Linked DNA regions of Homo sapiens: regions 1, 2, 4 and 5 are each linked to region 3. Evidence: promoter capture Hi-C in 16 types of primary human blood cells and fetal thymus (Javierre and others, 2016). All regions are on one chromosome and are shown on one strand. The core of a region is centred on a gene start or on the middle of the fragment in contact, and the rest is flanking DNA. Distances in the headings are between cores, read along the strand shown.

The links. Contacts are between HindIII fragments. The CHiCAGO score rates a contact against its expected background, and 5 or more counts as called.
Region 1: a contact is called between a fragment that was not itself captured here and the fragment with the promoter of DESI2 in region 3, in 1 of 17 cell types (neutrophils). The highest score is 6.9, in neutrophils.
Region 2: a contact is called between a fragment that was not itself captured here and the fragment with the promoter of DESI2 in region 3, in 1 of 17 cell types (non-activated CD4 T cells). The highest score is 5.0, in non-activated CD4 T cells.
Region 4: a fragment that was not itself captured here is called in contact with the fragment with the promoter of DESI2 in region 3 in 1 of 17 cell types (neutrophils); the score reaches 5.2 in neutrophils.
Region 5: the fragment with the promoter of TFB2M here is called in contact with the fragment with the promoter of DESI2 in region 3 in 3 of 17 cell types (total CD8 T cells, non-activated CD4 T cells and fetal thymus); the score reaches 7.5 in total CD8 T cells.

The regions. Positions count from the first base shown.
Region 1 is chr1:243,236,091-243,241,022 of GRCh38, forward strand. All of the region lies in intron 1 of CEP170 (centrosomal protein 170), which reads right to left. Among named protein-coding and RNA genes, the nearest start is that of CEP170, 17 kb to the right of the region's middle. The HindIII fragment of the contact is 8,921 bases long and covers 1-4,932 here.
Region 2 is chr1:245,958,259-245,963,175 of GRCh38, forward strand. The region is part of intron 5 of SMYD3 (SET and MYND domain containing 3); the gene reads right to left. Among named protein-coding and RNA genes, the nearest start is that of SMYD3-AS1, 150 kb to the right of the region's middle. The HindIII fragment of the contact is 4,538 bases long and covers 292-4,829 here.
Region 3 is chr1:244,651,671-244,656,360 of GRCh38, forward strand. It overlaps DESI2 (desumoylating isopeptidase 2), which reads left to right and starts at 1,456. Exons shown (of 5, transcript NM_016076.5): 1 at 1,456-1,685. The coding sequence starts at 1,644. RefSeq lists enhancers at 127-700, 960-1,119 and a silencer at 1,200-1,969. The HindIII fragment of the contact is 4,542 bases long and covers 1-2,001 here.
Region 4 is chr1:243,271,509-243,276,654 of GRCh38, forward strand. SDCCAG8 (SHH signaling and ciliogenesis regulator SDCCAG8) reads left to right here. Exons shown (of 18, transcript NM_006642.5): 4 at 3,035-3,148. Among named protein-coding and RNA genes, the nearest start is that of SDCCAG8, 18 kb to the left of the region's middle. The HindIII fragment of the contact is 931 bases long and covers 861-1,791 here.
Region 5 is chr1:246,562,379-246,567,703 of GRCh38, forward strand. It overlaps TFB2M (transcription factor B2, mitochondrial), which reads right to left and starts at 3,883. Exons shown (of 8, transcript NM_022366.3): 1 at 3,448-3,883; 2 at 1,968-2,056. The coding sequence starts at 3,760. CNST (consortin, connexin sorting protein) reads left to right here and starts at 4,078. Exons shown (of 11, transcript NM_152609.3): 1 at 4,078-4,285. RefSeq lists enhancers at 3,573-3,852, 4,083-4,142, 4,183-4,682. The HindIII fragment of the contact is 6,532 bases long and covers 1-4,814 here.

The sequences.
Region 1 (4,932 bases), core at 1,637-4,136, 1.4 Mb before region 3:
GCTAATTGCTTCTATTAATACTTGCATTCTTTCATTTAACTCCCAAAACAAGCATTCAAGAAACATTTTTCCCTTAAGAAAACTAAAGTTAAAGCCTTATTCAAGGTTACAAATGCAGTATAAACAGGAACCACCTAGATTCAAATCTGGGCCTTCAGCTACCAAATATGGGGCTTTTCCCACAAATCACTATCTCCTTTGTATTTTTCTTAAATATACCTCGAAATGATGCAGGTGATTCTGCCAGTCTCGGATTTGGCTACAGTTGGAGTATGATGATATGCAATATATTTTAACTTAACAACGAGTTCTCTAACACTCTGTTTGGGCAATAAATGCTGACAGTTCATGTAAATTTCAGCCTATTTTCAATCTTCTCAGCCTCCTGTTTGGCCACCAGCAGGCTCCAAGATTCTCTCCTCGAGAAGTTCACAGACAAGAAAGAATCAATCAGTTATTAAAACCAAAAACCAAAAATCAGCTGGCCAAAAATCAGCGGATCAATCTAGAGAAACGAGGGAAATTTAGTAAACTGGGGTATAGCATGGATTAGAAACCTAGACTCTGAAAGAATAGTAAACTATCTCCAGGTTCACTAAATAACTATAAATCTAAAAAACTGTCAGATCATAGAGCACTAGGAGCAGGAAAAGCCACACAAAGCTGTCTGGAAGACCTGAAACTGTCTACAGGAGGGAGTGACAATGGGAGGAAAGCAGTCTGGGTTAAGGGTCTGTTACGATCCTGAAAGTCAAATGCTTTGATTCACTGTTCTTAGCTCACGCAGGACAACAATTTCTCTGCCATGTGTCTGCAATTAATTTTAGCATATCACTAATTCTTGTGCCCTTTAAAAATGGTTTCTGTTCATCTTCAATACCTTTTCTGATTCACTATACATTAACTATTTGGGAGGTGGGTACAAATCATTTCCATTGCATTATCAGTATAACATATGAAAAGTGAATTGAAACTTCAAAGTGTAGAAAACTGAAACGTCTCAGAGTCTATTTTAAGCAAGAATGTATTTAGTGAATATATCACTAACACACTTTACTGTATAACAGTAAGTTGCTAATTACTAGCCTAAATTATGCAGTTTTTCTTTTTATCTTCATGTTAAATTATAATTTTTATAAATATCTCTATACCAGCACTGTGCAACAGACTGTGATGATGGAAATATTCCTGTCCAATACATTAGCCACAAGCCATGTGTTAACTATTGAGCACTTGAAATACAGCTAATACAACTAAAAAGATGAATTTTAAATTTCATTTAATTTTAATTCATTTAAATTTACATATTCATATATGGCTAGTGGCACTCTAGCTAGTTCAGCTCTCAAACTAACAAATGACACTATTATTTACCTTAAGGATCGCTTTCGTTAAATACCTCATACTTATAGTATATAAACATGCAGAATAGCTGATAAAATAATGCATGCTGGAAAAGAAAATTTTAATCTAATCAAAAGAAAATAAAGTGCTTTGTATTTTAATTTAATTGAGATAGTATCACTATAGGCCAGGCATGGTGGCTCACGCCTGTAATCCCAGCACTTTGGGAGGCCGAGGAGGGTGGATCACCCTGAGGTCAGGAGTTCGAGACCAACCTGGCCAATATGGTGAAACCCCCGTCTCTACTAAAAATATAAAAAATTAGCTGGGCCTTGTGGCGGGTGCCTGTAATCCTAGCTACTGGGGGTGGTGAGGCAGGAGAATTGCTTGAGCCTGGCAGGTGGAGGTCGCAGTGGGCCAAGATCACACCACTGCACTCCAGCCTGGGCAACAGAACGAGACTCCATCTTAAAAAAGACAGCATCATTATGACTTTCATACAAAGTAGTAAATTATATAAACAATCGGGTCTATCTTTTGTCTAAAATTTTTAAATATTCATTGTATTGGCAAGACTGTTCTTTCATATACTGTAATTCTTAGGCTATGGATGTTTAAAGTGATTAGGTTTATCTTTACCAGAATGCCATGAGGTATGTAACAGTTCAATGGAATTGTTCTGTAGTTTGATTATTTCTGAGAAGGTGAAATACAAGAATTCTCTTAAGGGAGGGAATCGCTAGGCACAGCCAGCCTAAAGAACACTGAACACTGGGAGGCCGAGGTGGGACGATCACTTGAGCCGAGGAATTCAGGACCAACCTAGGCAACAAAGTGACACCCTGTCTCTACAAAAAAATAAAAAAAATAAATAAATTGCCAGGTGTGGTGACGTGCACCTGTGGTCCCAGCTACAAGGGAGGCTGAGATAGGAAGATCGCTTGGGCCCAGGAGGTCAAGGATGCAGTGAGCCAAGACTGTGCCATTGCACTCTAGCTGGGGCAACACAGTGAACTGCCCTGGAAAAAAAAAAAAGAATAGTGATATATTTCATTTAGAGAAGAGCTTCTGCAATTTTGAGGGTAAACAGAAGCTAACACAGATAAAAGATTATTGGTATTAATAGCCAACAAGTGGAAGTAACCCAAAACCTAATGGTAGATCATTTTTTAAAAGTATAATTTTCCTCATTATATTTGAATTTTCTTTTAGCAAATGTACTAGAGTGTATGGTATATATACATGTATTAAAGAAAAAATCAAATCATCTAATCAGAAAGTAATTTTATAACAGAACTCAGTCCACATATTAGTAGTAAATTTGAATTTCCAAAGTCAAAGTAATTTTTGGAATTTGAACTATGGTGCTAACGGTTCATGGTTGAAAATGTCCTCCTGTTAAATCTAATGATCTCTAGTATTGCTATCTTAAATTACCTCTCAATATCTTTGACCATTCTTGCCTTCTACAAGTATCAGTCTGCTTTCCTCTCACTTCTGTGGGCACGCCTCAATCTCTTTGAAAGTGTCTACTTTTTCTTTAAATTCTGTTTTTACGGGGTTACTTCCCTATACATAATCTCTTTGGGACTTCTTTGAAAACCCTGGGCTTCCAATATTGCTTATTATAATGTTACACATATAATTTCAAGTCAAAACCTTTTTTACAAGATCAGACCTTCCCTCTGCTTACGAGTCATTTCCAGTTCAAGGTCCTCCTGGACTCCTCAGATTTAATTTTTAAAAAACAGAAAGAACCCTTTCATCTAACGAAATGTGCCTTTTTTCCTGTTCTCCCCGTCTTAGCGAATGGCATCACCAACTGACCAGATATTTTCTCTCCCACTCCCGCTTTAGTTAGGTAAGTCATTATGTCCCTTTGATTCCACATCCTAAATATCTTTCTTTGTGCCTTTCCTCTTATCCCACTGGTTCTTACCAATAAATTACTGCAGAACTCTTTTACCTGAATCCCTTGTCTCTAGCCTCCCACTCTCCAAATCCTTCCTCTATCCAGCTATCAAAATTACATTTATAAAAGTAAATGTAATAATTTCACTCCCTAATTTTCAATAGCTCCCTATAGAGTTCAAGATAGAATTCAAACTCTTCAGTTTTGAGTAAAAAGCCCTGTTATCTCCCCATGTTACTCTGCTCCTCCCTTGTATTCCATGTCCAACTGAATTTGAAAATGAAAGCTCTATGCTGTCCCAAGACCTTTCATAGTGAGCTTTCTCCAGCAATCACTTCCCCCAGAAAAACACCCATAGAATTCCCAGCCTCTCAATTCTGACCACCTATCTTGCCCTTCACATATACCTACAGCAACTCCTAAACTTCTTTGTACAAAATATATTCATTTTTGTCTATTTTCCCTTATAAACTGAGTTGCTTGAGTAAAGTGGCTATTACTTAGTAATCCTGGTATCTCTTGTACCTTGTATGGATGCCTGAAACTTTAGTAAATGTTCAGCAAATATTAATAGGTAATAGTGGCACAATATAAACTTTTCTGGTGAAGTTTTATCAATAGGCCAATAGCCATACTAGAAATCTGACATAAAATTCACTGGGAATTTTCTGATTACTTGGTAATATGAATACAATCTGGCCGGGCTGTAATCCCAGCACTTCGGGAGGCTGAGGAGGGTGGATCACCTGAAGTCAGAAGTTTGAGACCAGTCTGGCCAACATGGTGAAACCCTGTTTCTACTACAAATACGAAATTAACTGGGCATGGTGGCACATGCCTGTAATCCCAGCTACTCAGGAGGCTGAGGTAGGAGAATTGCTTGAACCTGGGAGGTGGAGGTTGCAGTGAGCTGAGATCACGCCATTGCACTCCAGCCTGGGCAACAAGAAACTCTGTCTCAAAAAAAAGAATACAATCCATTTAATACAAAATAAATCAGACTAGAATTGCAATAAGCAATCCATATGATCCGTTCCAAGATTCATCTCCTCACTTTGAAAGTGAAGCCGTTCACCATCACGGTTAGACGTTCCACCTTATTTCCCTAGAAGACAACCCTTAGTTAAGGAGATCACCTTAAGCTAATGGCTCTTAGACCTGGAATCACTTGCGGAGATTTTTACACACAGGAACACTTCTATGTGTGTATGTATTTATCAATATGTCTAGGCTTCATACCTGAAGACTTGAACTTATAATGTAACTGGTAAGGTATGGGTATCTGTATTTTTTTTTTTTTTTTGAAATTCTGCAGATTTCACTGTGCACAGATTAAGATGCACTTATTTATTCATTTATTTTTGAGACAGAGTTTTTGCTCTGTTGCCCAGACTGGAGTGCAATGGCACGATCTCAGCTCACTGCTACCTCTGCCTACTGGGTTCAAGTGATTCTCCTGCCTCAGCCTCCCAAGTAGCTGGGATTACAGGTGCCTGCCACCATGCTTGGCTAATTTTTGTATTTTTAGTAGAGATGAGGTTTCACCATGTTGGCCAGGCTGGTCTTGAACTCTTAACCTCAGATGATCCTCCCGCTTCGTCCTTCCAAAGTGCTAGGATTACAGGTGTAAGCCACCGTGCCCAGCCAGAAGCACGAATTCAAACAACAAAGTGCTT
Region 2 (4,917 bases), core at 1,311-3,810, 1.3 Mb after region 3:
GAGGAATGAGCTATAAAATAACATTCTGACAATACAATCATACACGATGCAGACTGCTTATCCATGAAGGCCCTTCACAATCTGGCCTCTGCATCCTTTCCTCACCCTTCCTCTCATCACCGGCCACAAATCTCCCTTTTTCCAGCCCTACAGAACACCATACACCATTTTCTAAAGTGCTGTGCTGATGAATGTACTTTCCACAGGCTCTTTCATTCGTGTGACTGCCCTTTCTCTTGCTTCATCTATCTCCTACTCCAAAACTTAGCTCAAGGGTTGCCTCCTTCAGGAAGCTTTTCCTCATTCTCCAGTCTGATTTAGGTTCTCCTCCTCCGTAGCAAAGTACATACCCCTAACAATACCACTTACCCCACTGAACCATCATTGCTGATTTACTTGTCTGTTTCTTTTACTACTAGGGTTATTCCTAGAAAGAAGAAGCTACATTTTATCCTACTTTGTATCTCTTTCATATAGTACAGTGACTGACACATCATAGGTGCTCCAGACCCCAAATAGAAGAACTGGGACAGAAATCAAAGGGTAGTATATCTGGGATCACCACCCTGGGGGAGTGGGCTATCTCATGAACCAGTATTTAAGCAGAGGCTAGATAATAACTTTCAGGAGCATTAAGAACTCTTTTTTGTTGTTGTTTGGTTTTTTTGAAACAGAGTTTCATTCCGTCTCCCAGGCTGGAGTTTGGTGGCATGATCTCAGCTCACTTCAACCTCCGCCTCCCAGGTTCAAGCGATTTTCACGTCTCAGCCTCCCAAGTAGTTGGGATTATAGGCGTGTGCCACCATGTCCAGCTAATTTTTTGGGTTTTGTTTTTGTTTTTTTAAGGAGAGATGGAGTTTCTCAAAAAACAAACAAACAAACAAACAAAAAACAAACAAACAAACTCTGGCCAGGTTGGTCTCAAACTCCTGGCCTTAAGTGATTGACCTGCCTCAGCCTCCCAAAGGGCTGGGATTACAGGCATGAGCCACCATGCCCGGCCAAGAGCTCTTTACACTAAGTGAGGAGCAGTGTTAGGCAAGCCAAGACATCCATGCTTGCTCTGTTATTCTACGGCTCCCGACAGCTCCAGATCAAAGTTTTCTGATGAAGATGGGCCAACATCTCAGAAGACAGGATGGCACAACAGTAACACAACTATCATAGTTAGAAAACCTGGGTTCTGGCTCTGACTTGGTTGTGTGATTTTTGGTAGACAGTCCCAAAAGTCTTGGGTGATTTCATCTCAGTTTCCCTATTTATAAAACAAAGGGTGAAAGGTAAGCTAGGGGGAGCTGACCAACTAGATGGTCTGTTAAACGCCTTCCAGTGCTAAGAGAATTGCCTTATTTTCCCATTGCTCACTGTGTTCTCTTGTGACCACCTGAAGGTCTCTGCCAGCTCATCTTATACCAGTGCTGTCTTCCCTGTTTGATGGCTCATTTCTCTAAATAAAGCATAACATTCACAGAACAAAATGAGTAAAATCTCTGTTTTTTTAGTTCACTGGACAACATCACTTTTCTTTTTTCATTTTTGAGACAGGGTCTTGCTCTGTTGCCCAGGCTGTAGTATGGTAGTGCCGTCACAGCTCACTGTGGCCTGGACCTCCCAGGCTCAAGTGATTTTCCTACCTCAGCCTCCTGAGTAGCTGAGACTGCAGGTGTGTGCCACCATGCCCGGCTAACTTTTTCCATTTTCTGTAGAGACAAGGTTTCATCATGTTGCCCAAGCTGCTCTCAAACTCGTGACTCAAATGATCCACCAGCCTCAGCCTCCCAAAGTGCTGGGATTACAGGTGTGAGCCACATGTGCTCGGCCACATATCTTTTTATTTTAAAATATTAATAAAACAAAATTATGCAGGTAAACTCTGAGTCCAAAGGGAAATTGGCATTGACTTACAAAATTTAATCAGATACTTAGAATTCACTGAGTTAACACGTGCATACTTGACCTTGCTTGATGCAAAGATCTGTGATATGTAATCATTTGCTACTTCACTGAAGATGTTTGAATCCTCCTTGTTGTAAGGTTGACTCCACAGGAAAAGACTGATTCACATGGCTTTGTTATCATTGGCTTTCTGTTATGAAAGCAGACAATTTAGGTCAAGGGACAACAATCTATTTTTCTGCCTGAAAATGACCCCGACATGAAAACCAACTGATAGATTGGTTCATTTCTATTACCAGCACTAAAGAATGGGCATAGGGCTGGGCACAGTGGCTCACACCTGTAATCCCAGCACTTAGAAGGCCGAGGCCAGCCTGGGTAACATGGGAAAACCCCCATCTCTACGAAAAAAAGACACAAAAATTAGTCAGGTGTGGTAGTGTGTGCCTATAGTCCCAGCTACTGAGGAGGCTGAGGTGGGAGGATCACTTGAGCCTGGGAGGTGGAGGTTGCAGTGAGCTGAGACCATGCCACTGCACTCCAGCCTGGGTGACAGAAACCAGACTCTGTCTCTAAATAAATAAATAAATAAATAAATGGCATAAATTAGCCTTATAAATTACTTTAATCCTGAATTTATAGAATCGTTACACATCTAGAGGAATTACTTAACTTTTTCAGATATACTTTGCATTTTTCACAGAGAGAAAAATAATTACATAGGCATTTTCACATTTGGAAGTTCATAACTCCCTCGGGACCTATTCCACAGGAAGGCCGAAGGCCAAAGGTCTCTTGTATATTATCTAGCTCCTTAAAATGGCAACATTTAAAAAAAAATCTAACCTCCTTCTCCCCCAAATCAATTCAGTTTGTTGAAATTCTTCCATATGCCTTAAAACTACCAAGGGAAGGCAGAGTCAGACAAGGTTTAAATGTTTGTAGGCATCTGAGAAAGAATTGAAAACAATCAGAGTAGAGATGGTGGTCTACTCTGCATTCTCCCTTGGGCGCTACCACAAAGGCACTTCTCTGTACCCATCAGCAGAGCCGCACATGCTCTCTCTTCTCATAGAAACAGGGTCAACCCTCATTTCTAGGAACATAATTTTCAACCACAAAGTTCCCTTCCATTTTTTACTTTCCTGACATCAGTCTGCTAAGTGAAGATATCTCGGTAAGAACTCCAATTTTAAGGGGAATGAATCTTTACAGAATGTACTTTATCTTGTCAGCACTTTGAATCTAAATTTCCTTCTCACCCTTTCACCCTAAAATATCAGCTTGCATCAGGCACAAAGGAAGATGCACAGCTGCAAGTGCTCAAGATGACTAAGGAAGGAAAAGCAGACAAGTCACTAATTACTCTCCAAACTGGAGGCCTAAATCATCCTTCTCTTCTACCTGTTGTTTCTGGAATAGTTTATGTCAGTAATGGAAAATTTAAACACTGTCATATAATTCCATTTTTTTTCCCCACTCCAGCTCTTAAAAACATCCTAGATGTTAAGATGTGTAGCCTAGGACAGTGGTTTTCACACAGTGCTCTAAGGAACCTTTAGAGCCAGACACACAGAGGAGGTATCAATAGGAGGGGTCTGATGCCCCTTCGACACATGTTACTATAATTAACATGTATTTTGAGACTGAGAATGTAGGCTCCATGAAAGCCGGGATTCCTGTTTCCTCACAGCCATCACCTCGTCCTTTTAACAGGGCCCAGAATACAGTAAGCTGCCGGATAAAAGTTTTTTGACTGAATAAACTGCACGGTTATTACAGCTGGGAACTGATTTCGCTGATTTCCACGGTAACCCTGTGAGGCACGTATAGTAGTTATCCTCACTTTGCAGATGGGCAAACTGAGGCTCAGAGCAGCCTGGCTTCCAAGACCCTCCTTCTAAACATCATACCACATGACACAGCCTCCCACGTGAGCCAGCAGCTGTATTTCATCTGTTTTACATGTGAGGTTTCCCACCATTTGACTGGAGAAAGGTCGATGTTAGGGGAGAAAAAACCATTTAAAAACCACCAACTTCATGGTGAAATCCAAAGGCTGCAAGTAATCAATCTCACTCCTTGCTCTGTTTTTCCTGCCACCCTTGGGACTTGACGCAAGTGGCTTAACTGCTCATTGTTTCAGGTTCCTCATCTTATTTTACAACCTATCTTGCAAGATGAGTATACATGAAATATTAGAGGATCCTGATGTTGTCAGAAGTGTAGTTTTGCGGATGTTGATCCCAGAATTGTGAAACAAGGACACGGTTGAGATGATCGCTAAACTCTGCCTGAAGTTCAACGCCTCTGTCATTGAAGACCTTGCACAGTGCCGTCCACATGGTTATTTTATTCCTCCATGTCCTTACCAACTAAACAAGCCATATGATTTTAGGTTTCGTGGCCAGACAGCCTGGCTAAGCTCCTATCAACATGTCAGCCAGATGAGGTGAAGAGATGGAGAAACAAACCTGCATGTGGGTTGCGTCGAACAATAAAGAGAAAACAGAGACCAAAAATCTTGTGCCAAGGTTTGACCTCAACAACCGCAAAACCAATCATTGCTGTGTTGTTTCACTATGTTTCTAGAAACATCCATAGAGGAGAAACCAAAGTCGGCCTGAATACATGTTAATAGCTTTCACGGGCTTACTTCTGATATTTTAAACAGGCAACAAAAAAGAAAAACCAAGTTTCAGATCTTGCCAGAAATTGGGGTTTCACTTAACTGTAAAACAGTCAAGGGGAGTTTATCAGGTAAGACACGAAGCCTTTCTTTATAAGCTCTTATAAGACTAGAGACCACTGGATTGCCGTGCAGTTACTGCCGCTGGCATTATTTTCTTAGCACACTAAGAAAAATAAAAATGTTCAAAGTCCTGTTTTTAAAAACAGGATGAGACTTCTGGCTTCTGATCTGGTATGTAAGAAGCTTAGAAGTCACCATTCCATCCTAACAACAAGTAAAAAGCTAAACAAACTAAAAAATCAACCATTCTTCTTACACATTTGAGATGC
Region 3 (4,690 bases), core at 206-2,705:
AGCCTCTGCTTGCACGATGTTAATGTCCCACGTCCACAGCAAGTCACAGTCCAGTGCAGTCAGTGGGGGTAGACACCACCAAAGAGTATAATTTGGGAGACTGGAAATAATTTGTGGCTATTTTCACAATCTGCCACACTCATCTCCCTATTTCCACCTCCTTTGCCTCTCTGAAATCCATTTTCCACACAGCAACCCAAGTAATCATTTTTAAACACACGCACACTCATTTCACTCCCTGGTCCAAACTTATGGCTTCGTTTAAAATACAACCCCTGTTATGAATTTTAAAATCCTTCCGGGATCTGGCCTCTGCCTACCTGCCCAGCTCATCTAGTACCGTCGACTCCTTGCCTACTGTGTCCCAGCAAGAGTGATCTTTTGTTTCCTTGAATACAGAAAACTCCTTCATGCTTCAGATCTTTGCATTTGTTCCCTTTGACTGAAATACTCCTCCCCCTCATATCTGCGGGGCTGGCTTTGTCATTCACATTTCAGCTTAAAACTCATTACAGCGATCTTCCCCGTGCAGCCAATTTAAGAATGACTTCACCTTACTTAAATTTTCTGCAAAGCACATACCAGTGATATTTTGTATGTCCCTGTTCCTGTTTATCACGGCATTCCCGAGGGCCTACAACACTGCCTGGCACATAGGAAGCACATAACAAACATTTGTTGAATTAATGCAGAGCTGCATACTACGTCCCAGGATTGTGCTAAGCTACGGTTACTGTACCCTTCCCATCTCAGCAGGATAGTTTCACAAAATGTAAATTCCACATTGAGGATTAATTGGATGCACGTTACACCTCATCCCACACCAGTAACTCGTCTTCCTCTATTTCCCCACCACTCCCCTTGCCAAATAAAAGGTGAGGAAGCATTTGGAAAACTTAGGGTCATCACTCTGGTCTTTTGCCACATTTCGCTGGCTTCATCGAGCTCAACGCAACATGAACTACTAACAGCAGCAGCACCTGAGATGAGAGGGTGAATGAAGGTAGGAGATTTCACCGCCCGCGGGCGGCAAGGGATCTGCCGCAGCTCTAAAGCACTGCATGCTGGGAGTTGTAGTCTCCCGGGGAGGCCTGGTCTGGTAGGACCGGGGCCCCCGCGGCATGCAGGGAGTTGTAGTCGAAGGGCTGTTGAGACTCCGCCTCTGCACTTATAGTAGCAAGGGGGAATCCTCACTGCATGCTGGGAACTGTAGTCTTCCTGGGTCCCCGTTCCTCCAGGACGCGGAGGCGCCGGAGTTGCCGCCATTTTAGGTCCCGAGGTGCGCCGGCCGAGAACCAGAGCGCAGGCGGGCTCAGTCCTGGCGCCGGGCCGGCCCCGCCCCCGGGGCGCCTGGCGCCCGCCCCTTGCTCAAGCCCCGCCTTTCCCCACGTGTCTGCCGCCTAGGGGAGGTGCCTCATCCGGAGCGGGCCGCCAACGGTCCGGCCCCGTCCGCACAGACGCTCCTGTCGGCGGCGCCCGGGAGCGGCTCGGCTGCCCGATGCTTCCGCCCCGGCTGCCGCGGGCCGGGCTGTACGCTTAGTGCCCGGCTCAGGCCCCCTGAAGCGCCCGCGGGGGTGAGAGCGGCCTCCGGCCCCGCGGAGACGGAGCGGCTTGAGGACGAGGCGGCGGCCGCGGGGAGGAGGATGGGGGCTAACCAGTTAGTGGTGCTCAACGTGTACGACATGGTGAGTGCGGCCCCTGGCGGCCCCGAGCCCTGGCCCAGGCCGGCTTCCTCTCGCCCGTGGGGCTCGGACCCCGGCCCCAGGCGCTTCCTGCCTGGCGTCTCCGCCTCCAGCCTAGTTCTCGGGGGAAGCCGGGGGTGAAGGAGGGAGTATTGTTATTTTTTAATCCTCGCACTCGTCGACGCTCCGGTGAACCCAGTCAGCCCGAGGGTTTTGGCCAAAGCTCGGGTGGGCTTGAACCTCTCCCATCCGCTCAGCTTGGACCCGACCCCGGCTCTGGGCCCGACCCCTTGGCCGACGTGCAGTGTCCTTTCGGCAAAGCTTCCGTTGCGTTTCCAACCCCACTTGCCGGCCCCCGGGGCTGCCCCGGGACCCCCGTCCCGACCGCCTGCGCTCCCAGCTCCTCTGCTTCTGCCGAACTGTCCGTCTCTCTCCATGGCTACGTCTTCAGAAACTCCCAAGCCCCTCTAAGTCCAGAAGGTCACAGCTTTCGGGTGCCTGTGCTAGAATCTCTTCAAAGGTGAACAGGAGCCAACACACCCTTTCCTTGTGTGTTAAAGGCAACCTCGTTAAAATATGAATGAGGCTAACATTTCTCAAGAAAATAGCCCAGCTGAATTATTTAGAGATCCTGGTGGTGCTCCTTTCCTACACTCTGAAGACCACTTTCCAGGTGATGCAACAGGTGACGTGACCACGGGAGAGGGAAGGGAAGAAGTTGTTTATTGTATCATCTAACTTTGGAGTATGGCAAGCACGCAGAATCGAGTCCAAGAACTGGTTTGCCTGATTTTTGCAGTGAAATGCCCCCAGAAAAAAGCACCCGGTAGAGAATTGTCGTTGCAGTTAGATGCATGTTTGGGTGTGTTTGCTTGCTTTGTTCTGTAGAATGGGTTTTTGTTCTGTAGACTGGATTAGTACCTCTGACTGCAGTGCTTAAAATTCCTTGTAAGTTGACTGACAAATGAAAAATTGCCCGTCGTTATTTTTGTTGGCTTAAAGATGCAGGAGAGCAGAAATACTACAGGCCAAGAGTCTTATACAGTTCTAAACTTTGTATTCCCTTGTATTATTTATAAGTTTCTAAATTTACAGTGTTATTATATCTTGGGTAGAGTGGGATTTCTCATGCCATATCTGGGAATTGTGTCAGAAGGGTGTAGGAACTGCCTGCCACTTGAGATGAGTCCTCTGTTGAATTCTGATGTGAGCCTGGAGATGAAAGGAGATGAGTTAACATGCTGAGAAAAGTGGAACAGGACAGAAAAAGTTGAAGAGGAGAATAAGCCAAACAAAAGATCCTAGAAAACCATGGCACTTTGTAAGTTCTGTGGCCTGTGTCACTGGTTGAGAAATAATTCTCTGGATTTAAACTTTTTGTGTTCAGCTGAACACCTTTATCTTTCAAGACTCTTAACTGCCCTTTTACTTTCTCTGTGCACATCCCCCTAATCTGAATTTGGTTTGTTTTTTATTCATGAGGGCTATTACTGTCTTTCAGAATATATTCTGCTCTTGAGATCACAGTGTGCCTTTTCTCCTAGATTATTAAACAAACCCGTATTTAAATTAGGAGTATACAGTGGCCAGAAGCCATGGTTTCAGAGCCTAAAAGAATTTGTGAGAATAGAGGAAGAGAGTTTTACCTTTTATATGAAAACGAAAATGCATGTTTTGGCATATAGTGGGCTTCTTTACACTTGAGGCATTCTGTGATACAGGAAAATCTGCAAATTGTGGTCGATTGGGAAAAGCTAGAGATGGTATTCAGTATTTTCGAAGGGAGGACTGTTCTGAACGATGTTAAAATATTGACTAATGAGCGAGATCTTATTCTTCACATCAAGTTTGTAAAATAGGTAGTTAGAGAAGCAGCAGACAGGGGAGAGAGTAAGTGATCTGCCTAAACAACTAAAAATACAATCTAGAATTTGTAGACCAAAATCTGATTCACTATCTTCTCTACTAATTCCTGCACTTATGTCTTTATATTGCTTTTGCCTGTGAACAGGAGATGAAGCATATGAATGTTTATCGGAATGATAAATAGTTGAATTATTAGACTTTTAATAAACTTGGTCTTATATGTTCTTTTGAGGGCTTTGAGTGTTTTATGTCACTAATTCAGCAACCTACCATTACTTATTATTTTTGACCTGGTAGAAGCCACAAGGATGAGTTAACTGTCCTTTCTTCTTTAAGGAATTTAGAGTATTGTAGAGGAGATACACAACAGTGGCAACAATTCAAGACAGAATAGCATGGTTTTGATAAGAGCAGACAAGGATGCAAAGGAGGAGACTATGTAGTTGTAGGATCAGGGAATGCTGAAAAATCAAAGGTATGAAACTTGAAGAATGGGTAGCATCCACAAGGACAGAGAACAATTGACGTGAACAAAATGGCAGGAATAGGGAAAGCGCAGGTGGGATTTGGGAACTATCAGCTGGTCCAGTATAACTAGAGTAGAGCATAAATGAAAGGAGACAAAACTGAAAGTTTGATTAGAACTTCTTTAGTCAGATGTGTTGTGGGCTTGGGTGAAGGGCTGAGGGGGCTCCTTGAGCCAGCAGAACCATTTAAGGTTTTCATGGAGGGGAACAGTGTGATCAGTTGTTTAGATTGAGATACAAATTTTGGTCTGTTATACTAATTTTTCTCAAGTCAGTTTTGGTTTTTGAAATATTTTTGTTTGATGCCAAGGGTAAATTCCTTTTATCTTTGGTAATTCTTCCTATTCATCAGAGATGCTTTGGATGAGGGTTGCTGTTGTCTGTATAGGCCTAGTACATCAGCTGTCTGGTTCCAACTCTGTAAATATGAAAATCAACCTTAGGGATGCCCTTATAATCATGGTTATAGGGACCTCTTGCCATGTGTCCTTGTGTCTCTTTGTTAGATTGTCACCCGTTCCAGTTCTGATTGTATTTTTCTATTTTCTAGATTGGGCTGCTGCGGATCATTTCTTTTCTTCCATAACTCTGCCGTATGCATGAAAATAATTCTAT
Region 4 (5,146 bases), core at 76-2,575, 1.4 Mb before region 3:
TTTGAGTGTCAAAATAATACATTTTATTTTTAATTAATTAATTAATTTTTTTGAGACAGAGTCTCATTCTGTTGCTCAGGCTAGAGTGCAGTGGCATGATCTCGCCTCACTACAACCTCTGCCTCCCTGGTTCAAGCGATTCTCCTGCCTCAGCCTCCCTAGTATTTGGGTTTACAGATGTGCACTACCACACCAGGCTAATTTTTTGTATTTTTAGTAGAGATGGGGTTTCACCATATTGGCTAGGCTGGTCTCGAACTCTGAACCTCAGGAAATCCATCAGCCTCGGCCTCCCAAAGCACCGGGATTATAGGTGTGAGCCACCGCGCCTGGCCTCAAAATAATACGTTTTAATATGTAATGTTCTATATGTTAAAATATATGGTTATAAAATAGTATGATATATAAGAAGTGGTGCTGTATTTCTTCTGAAGTTGTTTGTTATTGCTTTGACAGAGTGTATTATTTCTGATTAAAGCATTTTATATGCTAAAGGCTGAGATAGATGTGAGTGAAAGCACTCTGGACCAGATTTAAGTGGACAAAATAATAGTCAAGGGCTTAGTTCTATCTAGGGTCTATCACATACTCTCTAAGATATTGTGCCTGTCTCACAGAGTTTTTGGAATAATGAGATAAGATTACATACTTAAAATTCTTTAGAAACCTATGAAGTGTTACATAAACATAACATGCATAGCAGCAAGTAACCACCTCACATTTTCAATGTGTTTTCTAGTTCAATACAATGCCTGTATGCTGAAAAGTGTGGAGACATGTCACTTTCTTTTCTTCACCACTGAAATATCAGAGTATCACTCCCATACGAACACTCCATTCCAGGCTGACACATACTTTTAAGCTTAATTCCTACTTTAGAGAAATGTACTTCATATGCATATTCTAAATTTATAGATACAGATTTTATAATTTTAGTAAAACATCTCATCATTTAATGAATTTATTACTATTGACATCTGGTTTCTAGCTTGCTCTTAAGCACAGACTGGTGGAATGCTTTTAAATCTACTAGATGAAGTTGCTTTATCTGTTGAATGCTCAGACATGCTTATTTGCCTTTTAAAGTCTGAGCAGTGATATTATGGAGCTTACTGAATCCAGACAGGCAGGAAGACCTTCACTAAGAGAATCAGTTTAGTACATACAGAGTGCACTTTAAAATACACAAGTCTATTTATATGGAGCTATGTAAAAGAATGGAACTTAGACTCTATATGTATACAGCCTACATGTAATAATTATAAACCATAATAGTAATAATTAGCTTTTTAAGATTATACCTTTAGAATGCACTTTCATAGCCAGTATAACATATTAGAAATACATGCATATATTGAGAGTAAAACTGAGGCACTGTTGAGATGGAAAAAAAGTTATTACTTATTGTCTTAAAATGTAGATATCTAAACTAAAGCCCTTCAAAGTAGACACAAATGATTTCATGTGAACATTTTTCATACAATATTGGCTTGAGCTTTTTATTTTTCACATTGACTTCCTCCTGTATACTCATAGTAGTAATTTATATTTGCCTATCTTCTGAACCTATTGCTATTAATGGAGGATGATTATAATTGTTTGATTTCTACTCAGGACAGATAATTCATTTAATTAGAGTTACTTTGGTTTTTAAATTTCTTAAATATACCAAAAAACCAAAGCTCTATTTTATTTTATTCTGCCATGATAGCTGGTACTTGATTATCATTTAAAATGTCTGCTGTGCTGAGAAAGAGAGTGGCTGAGAAACAGACACTGTGCCTCATTTCAAGCTTTCCTCTGGCTTTGTTTAACTGGTTGACCCTTGTTTTACCTTTTCCTGATTTCCTCATCCTTTAAAAAAAAAATTATGTGATGGGTATATGATTTTACAAACTATTTTAGGATAAGGTAAGCTATACATTAACAGTCAGTTCCAGGAATGCTACAGAGCTAAAATAGCATTAGCGTTTTTTTGAAATCTCTTCGTTGGACCCCTCAATGCAGTGTGTCTCTACTTTAGGGTTCTACTCTTGGAGGTTCTATGCTCCAGAACACCATACACTTGAATTGCCTTCAATACTAGAGCCAAAAATCAAAAACTACATTTTGCTAATGTATCTTTTTTGAGATGGAATTTCATCGCATTGACACTGGCTTGGCATCAAACGCTTCCTAAAGAATCTCTCCTTCACGGAGCTGCTGCAGTTTTAGCTAGCAAATCCTCTTCCATGGCAGTTTCTTGGAGAGAGTTGTCCCTTGTATCTCAGCATTACTGAATGGAATGTTGTTTTTCCAATTTGTTAAAATAGTTTATTCCAAGCCAGTTATACTACTGCTACCCCAGCATTTTTCCATTCACTATATGTGCTTTTTATAACCACTTTCACCATCCATCTTTAAAAAAAATGATATTCACATCCATGAATCTTGTGTATTTGTGGAATTTATAGGATAGAGAAGCAAGTATTTGTATTAGTCCATTCTCGTGTTGCTAAAAATAAATACCTGAGGCTGGGTAATTTATTTAAAAAAGAGGTTTAATCAGCTCATGGTTCTGCAGGCTGTATAGGAAGTGTGATACTGGCATCTCACTCTGGTGAGGGCCTCAGGAAACTTTCAGTCATGGTGGAAGGTGAAAGGGGAGCAGGCATTTCATGTGGTGAGAGCCAGAGCAAGAAGTGGGAGAGGTGTCACATTCTTTTAAACAACCAAATCTCACCAAAACTCAGAGCAAGAACTCATTATCATGAGGATAGCACCAAGATTCATTCATCATGACCGAAACACCTCCCACCAGGCCCCACCTCCAATGCTGGGGGCCACATTTCAACTTGAGGTTTGTGGGGGACAAGCATCCAAACTATATCAAGACTATAAGCTACATTGTGATCGATTCTATGTTTATATCACATCAGTGCAAAATTGAGTATGGAGAAGGTAACAACTGATTCTTTGCTAAATCCAAACATGCTTAATTTGGCTTTTTAAAATTTATGTATTTATGTATTTATTTATTTATTTTTTGTCATAGAGGTCATTAGAACATGAGGAAACCAATATGCCTACTATGCACGACCTTGTTCATACTATTAATGACCAGTCTCAATATATTCATCATTTAGAGGCAGAAGTTAAGTTCTGCAAGGTAAGTTTCTCATTAAGAATTTAAAACTAAATAAATGAAAGCTTATATTAACTATAGATTGTATTAAAATTTGCTGCTATAAATCTTCATGTTTGTAGCAATACATTGACAATTGCTATTCTTACGTGATTGAGAGACTGATGTGTCACAAGAGCTTGTCAGACTTGGGAATGATGCTCTTGACCATACCATTTCTGATTGCTTGATTTCCCAGTAGTTCATTACTATGTCTAATGATTTCATAATATGCTTTCATATTTCAGAAGTTTTCCTTCTCACCCCGCTTGCTGTAGCCCAGCAAATGGCAAATGCTTTGGAATACAAATACCAATCATTCTCCCATACTTGTCAACCTACTGGAGCAGTGGTACAGCAATCAGGGATTCTAAACTGGTAGACCAATTCTTCTCCGCTGTCAGTATTAAGGCTCTTACTTTGACTTTGAATGAGAATGGTTCATAGGGTACTGACAGTAATGATCAAGAAACCAAACACATCATATATAGCTTATGACACTAGAAGGTTATATGCTCAACTGCGTGCAGTTTGCTAATGTCATTAATGCTAATAGAGCCTTTTCATCTTCCCGAAGTATGTCGTGTTTTACTTTTTTTTTTCTGTTTCTTTCTCTCTTTCTTTCTTTCCCTCCCTCTTTCTTTCTTTCTAGTATCAGTGTATTCGATTGTATGATATTTTTATAGGAATCACTGATATCTCTTGTATCATGTTTTTATATATAGTATATGATATTATGTATTATATTGTTGACATTTTAAGATGCAAGGCCAGTATGTAACTTAAGGAGGCTTTAGATGTTTCACTGTCCTGATTTTACCGGGGAGTTTCTGATCTTAACATGTAATTTCCTGTTTGTTCTTGGAGGACACAGTTATTAATATACACGTGGTCCTGGATTACCAGTAAAGCTGAAATAATATCCTAGGAACTATTTCATTAACAATACTCTATTAATCCCTAAGATGTTGTGGATAAAACTTGAAAGATATAAAGCAGAATAAATTTACTATCTAGTTGAGAAGACAGAACTATTCCCTATTAACACCATAAGGAGCACATTAGAGAACATAGTATAGGCCTTTACTTTTTGGTATAAGCTATAATTATAATAAGAGAAGAAGGTTAGGAAAAGCTACTGTCTTTGGGAATGTTTCTATGGGAGAGAGAGATCTTGAACCAATGTTTTTTTTTTTTTTTTTTTTTTTTTTTTGATGGAGTCTCGCATTGTCGCCAGACTGGAGTGCGGTGTCACAGTCTCCGCTCACTGCAACCTCCGACTCCCTGGTTCAAGCTATTCTCCTGCCTCAGCCTCCCCAGTAGCTGGGATTACAGGCCTGCGCCACCACGCCCAGCTAATTTTTGTATTTTTTGTAGAGACGGGGTTTCACCATGTTGGCCAGCATGGTCTCGATCTCTTGACCTCGTGATCCGTCCGCCTTGGTCTCCCAAAGTGCTGGAATTACCGGTATGAGCCACGATGCCCGGCCTAAACCAGTCTTAAAGGAATAGGATCATTTAGATCAGCAGAAGGGAGATGAGTTTCATAAAGAGAATGGCAACAGTGAAACACAGTATTCAGGATGAATATGGTTTGTGGGGGCCATAAGCCATCTACTTTATCTTCCTGCAGTGGAGAATGTCTCATAGAAATAATGAAAGTAATCCTGAACTGGTAAAATGGAAGATTACGGAAGCCTTGACTGTCAGACAGAGTGTAAATTTGATACATTTTAGTAAGAGAAGAATAGAATTAAAATAATGTTTAAGTGGTTTAGAAAGATTTTGTTTATTTAGTTAATGGACTTTATTTTTTAGATCAGTTTTAGGTTTATAGAAAGGTTGAATGGCAAACACATAGAGTCCTGTATCCTCCTTTCAGTGACATCCCTCACCTAATAGTTTCCCTTGTTATTAACATCTTGCATCAGTGTGGCACATTTGTTACAACTGATGAACCACTATTGTTAAATTATTATTATC
Region 5 (5,325 bases), core at 2,633-5,132, 1.9 Mb after region 3:
ATCACTGAAAAATCTATTTGGATGATGCCTTCACTCTATGCAACTGTATCTGACTACAGGCTGAGCATCCTTAATCCAAAAATTCTGAAATGCTCCAAAATGTGAAACTTTTTGAGTGTCAACATGAAGCCAAAAGTGGAAAATTTGACACCCGACCTTCTGTGACAGGCTTGCAGTGAAAATGCAGGTATACAACACGAAGATGAGGTCAGTCTATAAAAATCGAAGGGAGTCATCTAAGACAAAAACCACTGTTAATAAGGCAGATGACTCCATAGGGAACTTTTTTTTTTTTTTGAGACAAAGAGTGTAGCTCAGTCGCCCAGGCTGCAGTGCAGTGGTGTGATCTCAGCTCACTGCAATCTCTGAGTCCCGGGTTCAAGCGATTCTCCTGCCTCAGCCTCCCGAGTAGCTGGGACTACAGGCATGCGCCACCACGCCCAGCTAAGTTTTGTATTTTTAGTAGAGACGGGGTTTCACCATGTTGGTCAGGATGGTCTCAATCTCTTAACCTAGTGATCCGCCCGCCTCTGCCTCCCGAAGTGCTGGGATGACAGGTGTGAGCCACCGCGCCCGGCCCACAGGAAACATTTTTAAAAGCCGGCCGGCAGAATGTCTCCTTAGCCTTGACGGACCCGCTTCCTGGTCCCTCAGCTGCTTCTGATGTTTCTTCTTAAGAAAAAATAAAATGTGGTGTACAGTAACCTTTCAATGAAAACACAGCATCCCAGGAGACTGAAAGCCTGCCGCTGTGTGTTTCCACTGTTCAACAGCTGACACAGGGATTCTGATGCTGCTGTGCTGCTTAGTTTCTCTGAACACACTTTTTTTTTTTTTTTTTACTGTACTAATGGTATGTCATTTTTTCTACTGTTAAGCACTCATGTGTGAATAAGTGTAAGAAAATGATGGCTTATCAGAAGCATATAAATTCGGAGTCAGGAGCTAGGCATGGTGGCTCACGCCTGTAATCCCAGCACTTTGGGAGGCCAAGGTGGGTGGATCACCTGAGGTCAGCAGTTCAAGACCAGCCTGGCCAACATGGTGAAACCCCGTCACTACTAAAAATACAAAAGTCAGCTGGGCATAGTGGCGGGCGCCTGTAATCCCAGCTACTTGGGAGGCTGAGGCAGGAGAATCGCTTAAACTTGGGAGGCAGTGGTTACAGTGAGCCGAGATCGCACCATTGCACTCCAGCCTGGGTGACAAGAGAGAAACTCCATCTTAAAAAAAAAAAAAAAGTCAGGGATGATGACGATGTCAAACAAGGAGATTGTTCACATGGGTGGGTGACATAGTGACACCTTTGCTTTCTGATGGTCCAATGTACACAAATTTTGTTTAATGCACAAAATTATTTAAAATATTATACAGAATTGCCTTTAGGCCTTATGAATAAGATGTATATGGAACAAAAAAGGAATTTTTAGACTCGGGTCCCATCCCCAAGATATCTCATTATGTATATGCAAATATTGCAAAATATGAAAAAATTTGAAATCCAAAACAGTTGTGTTCCCAAGCATTTCAGATAAAATACTTAATTTGTATGCCAACCTTTCTTGCCTTTCAAACCCTAAATATAGAGGTTACACAGATCCATTAACCTAATATTAGCACTTATTCCAATTAGATTCCAAGCTCACAGAAGAAAGGAGCACAGCGCAGCTTAGTAGAAATGGGGAAACAAGCCTAGGGATGCCAGTTATACGCTTTGTTCAAAGTCACCCAACTAGGCTGTAGCCGACCTAGAACTAGCAAACAAGTCTTAGAACTCCTCATGTTTCAGCCATTCAACAGCACTGAATATTAACTGTGTTCTAGTCTTTGGGAATAAACAAGATATTTCAGAGATGGCTCCCTAAAAGATATTCTATGTAAAACACTGTGTGCTTAATTCCATTTCCTTAAACCACTCACAGATAGTTGAACAAACAATAACATACGTTGAGAAACTAAAAATATACCTCCAAATGTGGAATAAAAGTTTTGTCACTTTCGAGCGCAACCACTTTGGCACCAGCTTCAAGTAATGCCTGAGTCAGGATTCCAGGACCTGGCACATTAACAGAACGAAAAGTTTATTTGTACAAGAAACATAATCTCTTTCAATACCAAACTTTCATTAGATGTTTCACACGTTATTACCTGGTTTTTAAATCTGACAGCATCCGCAAAGTAGATGTCACTCTCCTTTTTACATATAAGGAAACAGGAGATTATATATACTTATTTGACTCCAGCGTCAAAAGTGATGCAGCTTGGCTTTGAAATCATTGTCAGCGACTGCAAAACCTGCACTCTTTTTTTTTTTTTTTTGAGACGAAGTCTCACTCTGTCACCCAGGCTGGAGTGCAGTGGGGCAATCTCGGCTCACTGCAACCTCTGCCTCTTGGGTTCAAGCGATTCTCCTGCCTCAGCCTCCCGAGTAGCTGGGATTACAGGCGCCCGCCACCACGCCCGGCTAATTTTTGTATTTTAAGCAGAGACGGAGTTTCACCATGTTGGCCAGGCTGGTCTGGAACTCCTGACCTCAAGGGAACCACTCGCCTCGGCCTCTGAAAGTGCTGGATTACAGGCGTGAGCCACCGCACCAGGTCAAAACTTGCACTCTTCATCACCATGATTCACTACCTCTTAGAAGAAAAAAGTCACAGCAAAATAGATTGCCTCTAGCCTATCACTTCCTCACGGACTACACGGATGCTTTAACCATCAAAGAGATTGTCAAGCCTAAACAGAACTGACTCCCTGTGATATGAAATGGTGCTTTAAAAAACTATCATTCAAAAAGCCTATAAATCTTGTGTTCTTAGCATCCTGCTATGGTCTATAGGGAATGCACGGAAGAATAAGATAACATCATTTTTTCAGCTGGCAGAGGCTTGCAACTCTTTTGGGGAGATAAGATCTAAGAGCATGTTTTATCAAAATATTGTGTAAAGTGCAAGCTGCTACAGAAATACTTTGTGGTGTCATTAACGATACAGACTCTACGCTTATGTAGTGGGCAATCTCTCCAACTAAGGAGCTTCAAACAAAGACCCGTATCTGGACGGGCGCAGTGGCTCACGCCTCTAATCCCAGCATTTTGGGAGACCTAGGGGGGAGGATCACGAGGTCAAGAGATCGAGACCATCCTGGCCAACACGGCGAAATCCCGTCTCTAGTAAAAATAAGAAAATTAGCTGGGCGTGGTGGCGCGCGCCTGTAGTTCTTGCTACTCGGGAGGCTGAGGCAGGAGAATCGCCTGAACCCGGTACGCGGAGGTTGCAGGGAGCCGAGATCGCCCCACTGCACTCCAGCCTGGCAACACAGCGAGACTCCGTCTCAAAGCAAAAGAACAACAAAAAAGACCCCCCAGTATCTAAAATAGCACCCCGAGGAGGGTCAATACGTTTGAATAAATGATGAACATCCAAGAAAATGCAATTCAGCTGGACTCACCTGGATTGCACTCCAGCAGTAGGTGTGGAGGTCTACTTGGTTTTCCCAAATAGATTTGCGCCAGGGTCTCAGCCAATCTCCGATCGGTTACGTAACGCTTAAAGTCTAAGCTGGCCTTAGACGCCTTCCTTGGCGGATTCCTGAAATCCGGTTCGGGCCACAGCTGCGGAGAGGAGTCAGAGAGCCCACAGTGGTTCCTCGCCGGCAAATGCTTTCGCGTCGCCGCTTCAGACCCTAAAATGCAAAAGCGACCAGCGCCCGCCAAGGCGGAGAGCCTCAGCCGCCGAGGAAGCCCGACCACTGGGATCCACATGTCCTTGTCTCTCAGGCCCGCTCCAAGAATCACCTAGTGCAGCTACTACAGTGAACCCCACGCAGGGTATCCCACGTGGAACATTTTCTGGCGTCCGGGCCAGGTCAAGCGGAAGTAAACACTAGAGCCTGCGCATGCGAACAGCGGAGCCTTCCTGCTTTTCTCCCTCACTTCCGCTTCCGCCTCGGCTCAGCCGCCCGAGGATTGTGAGTGGACCGTTGAGGAGAGCGACCGACCATCCGGCTGGTGTCCGGACTCGTACTCTATGGTTGTCCGCGCTCTGCGCTTCCTCTCTAGCCGCCAGTGCTCTATGCTCCGCGGTCGCGGGCCGCCAGCCTCCAGCCGGCCAGCCGCGAGGGGTGCGCAGAGGGAGGCGGGGCGGAAAGGCGAGAGGTGTCTCCTCCACCGGAGCCAGGGGAGACCCGAGCAAGCTCCGTGACAGCACGTCGGCCGCCATGTCGCCGAGTGGGGCTGGAAACAGACCCGGCGCCCAGCGGTAGCCCTCCTTGCGCCTCCGATTCCCAGGTGAGGAGAGGAGGAGCGGGATGCAGGGGACCCGCCGGCTCGCGGCCGGGATGGAAAGCCTTTCGGAAGCCTCTCGCTCCTCCCCCTGCGCTGTCCTCCTCCAGCCGCGCAGCCTCTGCCCTCCGGGTGAGGTGTAGCCCGGTCCCCTTACCTCCTCCGCCTCTCAGGTCGCCTGTTTTCCTCTCCTTTCTCAGCTACTGTGGGTCTCCTATTGCTGCGCGTCGCGCCAATTTCTCCCTCCCTAGGGGACTAGCGCCAGAAGTCGTTCCTCACCCGGCTCCTGGAGGAGCCTGCGGCTTCCACGGTCTCCGTTCCTTTCTGTTGTGTGGCCCACAGCCCGCTCTCCCCACCCTCGTGGATGGTTTTCATTTCCCCCCCACACCTGGTCCCCCCCATCACTACCACTTTGGTTGTCAAGAACCGCGTGGTGTCTCCCTTCCATTCCTCTCTCTGGGCCAATATTTTCCTTAATTTTTTCAGTTTGTGTGTTTAAAAGACTTAAAGTTAAGATTAAAAATGAAGATGTAAAAGCTTACAATTCCTTTCTAAGCTTAAAAAGATTAAGACTTTAGGATGCTTACTGTATTCCTTATGTAAACTTAGTCAAACACATCGTACTGTGGAATGCGATTTAAAAGACCCAATTTTGAAGACTAAAAATAGGATGCTGTAATGGAAATTTTGGCAGTCTTTTTTTTTTTACCTATTGGGCAATGTTAGAAGACACGGTTCTTTGAGAGTGTTTTCCGTGTTTCAGGATCAAACTTAGAGCTTTTACCCATTATCCTTACCACCAAGGCAAGAAACGGCAGCCAATCAACTCCGTGTCTTAGAATACGTACAATCCTTTCTGCTTACTCTACTGAGAGTGTAATTGAGTTTGGCATTTAAATGCACGAGGAAAAGGTTCCTAAGGAATGTATCACCCAGCAAATAGTCTGAAGATTATACTCATCTGATGAAGCTCAAGCGGATAAAGAATTGACAACTAAATATGACCTTTTGTGTATTATAAATTTGTTAGGACATCATAGAAAATA